2 separate regions of the Homo sapiens genome follow, and region 2 is linked to region 1. Evidence: promoter capture Hi-C in human tissues and cell types (Jung and others, 2019). All regions are on one chromosome and are shown on one strand. Each heading gives the region's core, a stretch centred on a gene start or on the middle of the fragment in contact. The rest is flanking DNA. Distances are from core to core; before and after follow the strand shown. Region 1 holds the start of CDK5R1 (cyclin dependent kinase 5 regulatory subunit 1). Region 2 overlaps MYO1D (myosin ID).

Evidence for each region. Contacts are between HindIII fragments. The study calls those that stand out against the background at their distance.
Region 2: a fragment that was not itself captured here is called in contact with the fragment with the promoter of CDK5R1 in region 1 in 1 of the 25 tissues and cell types used here (lymphoblastoid cells).

The regions. Positions count from the first base shown.
Region 1 is chr17:32,484,996-32,488,903 of GRCh38, reverse strand. CDK5R1 (cyclin dependent kinase 5 regulatory subunit 1) reads right to left here and starts at 1,911. Exons shown (of 2, transcript NM_003885.3): 1 at 1,742-1,911; 2 at 1-1,428. The coding sequence starts at 1,283. The coding sequence ends at 360. RefSeq lists enhancers at 825-1,384, 2,624-3,125 and silencers at 1,272-1,561, 1,652-1,911, 2,022-2,551. The HindIII fragment of the contact is 18,533 bases long and covers 1-3,908 here.
Region 2 is chr17:32,836,643-32,840,406 of GRCh38, reverse strand. The region is part of intron 1 of MYO1D (myosin ID); the gene reads left to right. LOC124903981 (a long non-coding RNA gene) reads right to left here. Exons shown (of 4, transcript XR_007065713.1): 2 at 1-3,764. Among named protein-coding and RNA genes, the nearest start is that of MYO1D-DT, 38 kb to the left of the region's middle. The HindIII fragment of the contact is 3,784 bases long and covers 1-3,481 here.

The sequences.
Region 1 (3,908 bases), core at 662-3,161:
CCTGGGCCAGGCAGCCAGAGGCCCCTCTCTAGCTCCATACAGGGTGCAGCCGGCAGCCTTGCCTACCCTGGACCCAGCAAGGGCACAGGCGGCAGGGGCAGGTCAGTCCTTTGAGTTCCCCAAAGTGGGAGGTCAGTGGCCTGGGTGGCTCTGAATACATCTTCTGGGTTTTGCGCAAGGCTCGTGAGTTCAAAAGTGCCCAGAGTTCTTGGCAGGGATGAAAAAAACCCCAGGGAGAGACTGTGGGAAAGGTGAGGCCCTTGGTGGCTTTGCTAGACACATACTGTACACAAAACTGATTTAATAATAAATTCTTAAAAATGCATTGAATCCTTGAGCCATGACGCAGGCTACAGTGCTCACCGATCCAGGCCTAGGAGGAGCCGCTTCTTGTCCTCCTGGCCGCTCTCGTTCTTCAGGTCGGAGAAGACCTGTGTGAAGTAGTGTGGGTCGGCATTTATCTGCAGCATCTTTGAGCTCATGAGGTTGATGACAGAGAGGCAACGGTCCCAAAAGGCCTCCTTGCAGCTCTCCACCAGGAAGGGCTTGAGCGGGTAGGAGATCTCGTTGCCCATGTAGGAGTAGGAGAGGTACAGGCATGTCAGCAGGACGGCCTGGAGCTCGTGATCCGAGCCCACCTCGGAGGAGATAACATCCCTGCAGAGCATGTAGAGGAAGACCACGTTGGCCGGCGTGATGAAGCCCTGGTCCTGCCAGCCCTGCAGAAGCAGCGAGCGGTCCACGCTGCGCAGCCAGAGCACGGGGTCCGTGGGGGACAGGTGCTTCAGGCGGTAGCACCGGCGGCAGAGAAACTCACCCAGGCAGCGAAGCAGCTCACTGGTGGACGCCTGGACGATGACCCGTTTGGGCGTCCCTGCGGAGGTGACGGCAGGGTGAGGGGCTTTCTTGACTGAGGAGGAGCCCCCGGTCTGGGAACCCGAGAGCTGGCTGGCCGGGGGTGCAGGCGGCTGGGCCGGTGGGGGCTGGGCGAATGTGGACAGGTTGGCGCACGACAGCGACTTCTTCAGGTTCTCATTGTTGAGGTGCGTGATGTTGTTCTGGTAGCTGCTGTTGGGCTGCACCTTCTTGGAGTTCTTCTTCTTGGCCGACACGGCCACGATTCTCTTCCAAGGCAGCACGGAGATGATGGAGTGGCGCTTCAGGTTCTTGTCCTTGGCGTTCTTGCTGTTCTGTACGGCCGTATAGTGGCCCACGGTGGCCGCGCCATCCTCAAACAGCGTGGCCTTCCGGTAGCTGGGAGACAGGGACAGCACCGTGCCCATGGTGCTGCTGCGCGCCGGGCGGGGGCTCGCGCCCCTGCGCGCCCAGCCTGCCGGCCGGAGGGATAAAACCGCTCACCGAGCCTGCGGCGGCCCCGGAGAGGAGGCGGGGGCGCTCCCGGGAAGCGTGCTGCCCCCTTGGATCTGCCTGGAAAACAAGATGGTTCTTAGCGCCAGGCTGGGCTCCGCGCCGCGCCCCTGCGCCCCTGCGCCCCTCCGCCCCGCGCCTCGGCGCACCCCGCCGCCCCAGTCCCGGGCCCTACCCGCGCCCCCGCGACGCAGCCTCGCCGCCTCCACTGCAGCACCCCCGCCCGCCGCCGCCGCTGCGGTCCCCAGGCGCAGCCGGGAGGGGCCCGGTCGCCGACGGAGGCGGCCGAGGACCCCCGCCTGGACACCCCGCACGGGCGCGACCCCGGTCTCCGCTCCCCAGGGCCAAGGACGGCCGCCCAGCGCAGGCTTACCCGGCAGGCGGCAGCTCCTGCGCTCCGCGCCCTCCGCAATGCGCGCCGCGGCCCCGCCGCCGCGGTCCCGGCGCTCGGCGGCGCTCGGGGGCGCTCGGCGGGGATCGGCTGGGCTCGCGCTCGGCGGCGGCGACGGCGGCGGCGGCGGCGGCGGCAGCTAGGGAGCTTCTGTCCAAGGTTCTGCAGGCACCGCAGCCCCGCCCCCCGCTCGGCCGCCCGCACCTTCGCCGCCGCCGCCGCGCTCCCGCTCCCGCTCCCGCTTCCGGCGCGCGCCTCAGCGCCCTCCCTCGCGGGGCGCGCGCGCCGTCCACGCTCCGGCCTGGTCTCGCCGGGGAGTCGCGGCCGTTGGTGTCCTCAGCTCGAGCCGCGCACGGTGCGGGTAGGACGCGGCAACGAGCGGGAGGCACCTCTACGCGCCGGGCCCCATCTAGGAGCCGGACTCCGCGGCTGCGGCGGGACACGCGGCGTCGGCCCGCCCCGCCCCTCGGGGCCGCCCCTCCCGCACAGCTCGCCGCCCGCTCCGCGCCGCCGCCCAACAGCAGCCCGGCCGCCGGAGAGTCCTCGGCGCCCGCGCAACCCAACTCTGCCGACGCGGGGCGGGCGCCGAGCAGGGCGGAGCCGAGGGCCGACCCCGCCCGCGTCCCGCCCAGACACGTGCTGCCTTTGTTCCCGCCGCGGCGCCCGCAGCTGCCGGCCGCGGGGGCACTCTCGGCCGAGTCCCTGCCCTGGCAGCGCGCGGCCCGCCCTCTCTGAGGCTGCCGCCCTGGCCTGGTGAGGAGCCCTCCGCCGAGGCCAGGGTCCGGAGCTCCCTCCTTCCACCTGACATCCCCGTCCCTGTGGAAAGCAGCCAGGGAGCGCGGGGAAGAAGGCCCTGGGCGGGGAGAGGCGACGCCTTTACTGAGGCCTCCCGAGTGCCACGCGCACCTCGAGTGGACAGTCCAATCGGTTCTGGCCACCCCTCCGGGGCCTCCGTTCCCTCATCATGGGTAGATGACCGCGGCCGAAGTGGGCCTCAGAGATCCAAGCCAGAGAAGCGTGGCCCGTAGCCAAGCCTGAGCCCGTCACAAATATGACCTCTAAGTTCCCACTCGCCCTCTTATTTGTCATATTAAAGCTGAAGCAACTGCCCCTCCGGCCAGCTTTCTGACCCTCTTAAACGTTTTCAATTCTAAGTATGTATAATTTGAGAACTTGATGCTAGCGAAATTGAGTAAAATTCTGTTTCTGAAAGCTGTTCCTGTCAGATGTGAATCCAGATCCTTCACAAAGGCTGTTGTTCATTTACTATTTTACCTTGTTTCTGGAGATCGAGTCAAAACTGACCACAAACCTGGGAAACAGGAAACTTAAGCCCTGTCTTAATCCAGATTATCTCTGGACCTAGAGATGAGGGAGTGGCTCTCCAGAGGAGAGGATGCCACCCAGTTACCTGACCACTCCAGCCGACTAGGCTTTCACCAGCCCTGTCAACTGTCCTAGGGGGAACAGAAAGGGAATCTGGCATCATTCAAAATGGTGCAATCAAGGCAGAAAGTGCTGGGTTTTGTTTATGTGCCACTCAGATTTCTGTCAATAGGAATTCCAGGCTTTAGGAACCTTGGGGGGCAAGGCATACAGTGGAAAATGCATTGCTCTGTACCCAGAGGGCTACTTTGTCCACAGCCTTTCAGAACATCCACAACAGCTGTTATGGGAACTCAGAAGAGGAAGGCAGGCCCCCAGCTCAGTGCGCCCCTCCCTGTGAATGTTCCTCAGTGTACAAGCCTACCTGCTCTTCAAATGGAGCTGTCCTCAACCCTCCTGCATGTAACAGTAAGAAGCCAGAAGAGGCCGACGCAGTGGCTCATGCTTGTAATCCCAGTATTTTGGGAGGCCGAGGCGGGTGGATCACCTGAGGTCAGGAGTTCGAGACCAGCCTAGCCAACATGGTGAAACCCCGTCTCTACTAAAAATACAAAAAAAATTAGCCAGGCGTGGTGGCAGGCACCTGTAATCTCAGCTACTCAGGAGGCTGAGGCAGGAGAATCGCTTGAACCTGGGAGACAGAGGTTGCAGTGGGCCGAGATTGCACCATTGCACTCCAGCCTGGGCAACAAGAGCGAAACTCCATCTCAAAAAAAAAAAAAAAAAAAAAAAAAAAGCCAGAAGAAACGATTTGCTTCGAGAC
Region 2 (3,764 bases), core at 340-2,839, 350 kb before region 1:
AAAAGCTGTACTCTGCAGTGTTCTGAGAGGTCATACTTGTAAATCACTCCCACGTTGAGAAAAGCTCTGTTCCAGAATCTGGTTCTAATTATCTTGGTCCTAACCCTTGGGTCGTATGAGATACCCTTGCAACCTTCCTTTAGATGCCATTTCCTCCAGGCTGCTTCCTGAACTCCCCAGATCCTCTCCAGTGTGCGCCAGTAACACCCTGGGCTTTTTGTTGTAATTATCTAATTATTTATCTGTATAATCTGTTGTATATGAACCCCAGGAGGATAAGAACTACATCTCTCTTTTCATCTTTATAGCCCTAGTGCCTCCAGTGGGGTAAACATCTCCTGAATGAAGGAATTATGCTCTGCCCACATAAAAAGATGGAACAAGAAAATTGTAATTGAAACAAGATCTTTTGTGTAAATATTCTTTCTTTCTAAAAGGAGACGGCTTTGAATGGCAGCCCTGGAAAGGAAAGTGAATGAGAACTATGTCTTTTTGGCATTATGTGTCTGGTAGTTTTGTCAGACCGTCAGATCTTCAATTTCTTAAATTTTGCCTTGTATTAAATATCTCACTATTCACGTTGCAAAATAAGACTCAACCCATTTTCAGAATAACAAATCCCCTGTGGAAAAAATGCATTAAAAATCCTGAGAGTAAATACAGGCCTAAAAATATGAGCAGTATCTCTGTTTTGTCCACTCACAGAATTATGTGTCCTGTCTTGTTTGTACTGAAGAGGTTGAGGAGGATTAATCTCTTCCTATAGGGTGAGCTTCCTTCCCCATGCTTCCCTTCATCCTCTGCCTTTCTCTGGAATTGCCCCTTACCTTCAACTTGCTGTCCATATTCCAGCTCACAGTGTTTCCAGGTTCACAGCCTTACTGCACTATGGTATGAGAGAATCCAAACTCAAACTGATTAAAGCCACACGCAATTACTCCTAACTTAGTCTGGCCCAATTTAAAAGCACTTAAATTCTCTGGCAGGTCTTTTCCACTCCTTTGGTTCTTAGGCCCTGCCACTATAGGTTACAATTATTTTGATAAGGCTCCAGCTTGCTTTGAATTCAGGTTGAAGTTTTTTCTTTATTCACTTCTTGGCTCTTGGAAAAATAAGGTTCTTTCTTCCTTGGGACCAAGGTATACCTCTGTTTAACACTGAATTAACAAATTGTCCATATAGTTCTCTCCAACAGCTTAGTCTACCTTCTTGGCTTAGACTTAGTCCTTTTTGCTTTTGCTTTCCTTTAGTTCTTGACATTTCCTGTACTTTGAGACAAACTATTAAGGTGTTCCTACTCTGCTTGTTTTTCTTGTTTTTTGTTTTGCTAACAACTTATGTTATTCTTGCAAAAATATATGATGGAAGGAAACATGGCTGAATAGCAATTGTTTAAAAACCTTATGGAAAATTATATGTAATCAAGTTGTAATTTTTCATATATTAAGCATTTAGTGTACTTCCAAATAAAATCACAATTGGATTGGAGTTGGGTGTATAGGAGGGAAATTGACTAAACAATTTCAAAGTTTATGTGGAAACTAAATATGTGAAAGTAGCATAGAAAAGTTTGAAGAAGAGTATTGAGTCAGTTGTTAATATTCCTCATAGTCCCTTAAGTGGGCTCCTTGACTGTACTCCTGACTTCCTCTAGTAAATTATTTTTATTTTCTTATAGATAAAGTGATCTTTCTAAAATGCCTATCTGAACACTTTGCCCCCGATGAAGCCCTTCGGTGGCTTACTTTGCTCTCAAGATAAAGTGCAAACTCATTTTTTAGATCTTTAATATCCTGTGTGATCTCGCCCTTAATACTTCTCCAGCCTGAGCTCTTGCCTGTACTTTTCCCGTCTGTCTGTTTACTTGTCTCCATCTTCTCACTAGCCTTCAAGCACCATAAAAATAGTGACTATCTAGTCACTATGTCTCGTTCCCTGTTTTATCCCTACAATCTAACGTGATGCAGGTGCTTAGTAAATATTGGTCAAATGAAATAATTATAAGGCTAAGACCAAATCGATGGAACTGAAAAGACAGTCCAGAAGCAGACTATTTCGTGTCTAAAAATTTAATAAATGATAAGGTATGCATCATAAATCTGAAGAGGAAAAGAATATTTGATAAATGGTATTGCCAGAGCTGGTTATTAATTTGGAAAAAGATAAGAGTTAGAGATGAGACCAGTATGTTAATAGTACCCCCAAAAAGGTTGCTAAGGCATTAAAGAGTTAATTTTTTTAATTTTAAGAATATAGTTTGACATGAATATTTATAGGGAAATACTTAGATTTATGGGGAATATTGTAGGGAAAAAATATTTCTAAGCTTGGGTGTGATCACCGATCCAACTACATAAAAATTTGAAAAGCACAAAGAACATTACATCTTGGGAAATGATTGCAGTAAATATAAAAATAAAAATGTTGTAAAGTATTATATGAAAAGAAAAGCACAATACCTTAGTGAATGAGAAGAACTCTAAAAAGCACTTGATAAATGCATACACAAAATGAAGACCGTTTATGAAAATGAGAATATAAATGACTAAACAAAAGTAATTTCGATTTTACTAGTAATCACTGAGTTAAACATTAAAACAATGAAATACAAATTTTTTGTCCTATCAGACTGATAAAAAATAGGGGAAAAGCCAGAGTTGGTGAGGACATGGTGAGTTGGTATTATGATGCATTATTGGGCACCAGTATCAACTGATAGAATTTTTCTGAACCAGTTTGGCTCTGTCTGCATCAATACCAAATGGTTGTGTACATTAATTCAGTAATTCAACTTCTGTGAGTATGGATGAAGGAAAGATTTTAGATACAAATAAAGCTTTAAATTTTGGTTATCAGTGTTTAATTAAAGCAAAAATTAGAAATAGTCTATTTGTGCCCACCTAGGGATGCAAAAAGAAAGAAAGAAAATAATCTAAATGTCCAGCAGTAAGAGAATCATTAAACGGTGGTTAGATCTAATTGAGTAATGCATAGCCATTAACAATGAACATGAGCCACAGTCTGGGAAAAGATTTTTATTATATATTATGGTCCTATATAATATAAGATTTGACAAAGCACTCATAGCTAGAACATTTAAAGAACTACCAAAAGAAAAAAAAAGACAAACAGCCCAGTTAAAAAAAAAAAAAGAAAAGGCAGGCACTTTGAAAAGAAGATAACCAAATGATCAATAAACATTTAAAAAGTCCACAACATCATTGCACATCAAGAAAATGGGAGCTAAAACTACAATGAGATAATATTACACACTCATCAGAATGGCTAAAATTTTAAAAACTGACAAAAATCAAATATTGGTGAGGATTCAGAATGAACCATTTAAAAAAAAGGAAAAAAATATTGGTGAGGATATGAAGCAACTGGAACTCTTACACATTGCTGGGAAACATGTAAATTACTTCAGCCACTTTGGAAAACTGGCAGTATCTCCTCAGGCTAACTCTATACCTATCCTATGACCTAGCGATTTAACTCCTAGGTATATACTCAGGAGAAGAATTCATGTCTACCAAGAGACTTTTAAAAGTGTAAAAAGAGTAGCTTCATTCAAACTAAACCAAAACTGAAAATAATCCAAATGTTCATAAACAGGAGAATGGCTTAACCGTGGTATAATCTAATGTAATAATTAATATAATTATATGATGTCATTATGTAACTATAATAGTTAATGTAATTAAATTGTGGTATATTCCTATATAGAATACTGTATGGTGATAATGAAATAACAAATTAGTGAC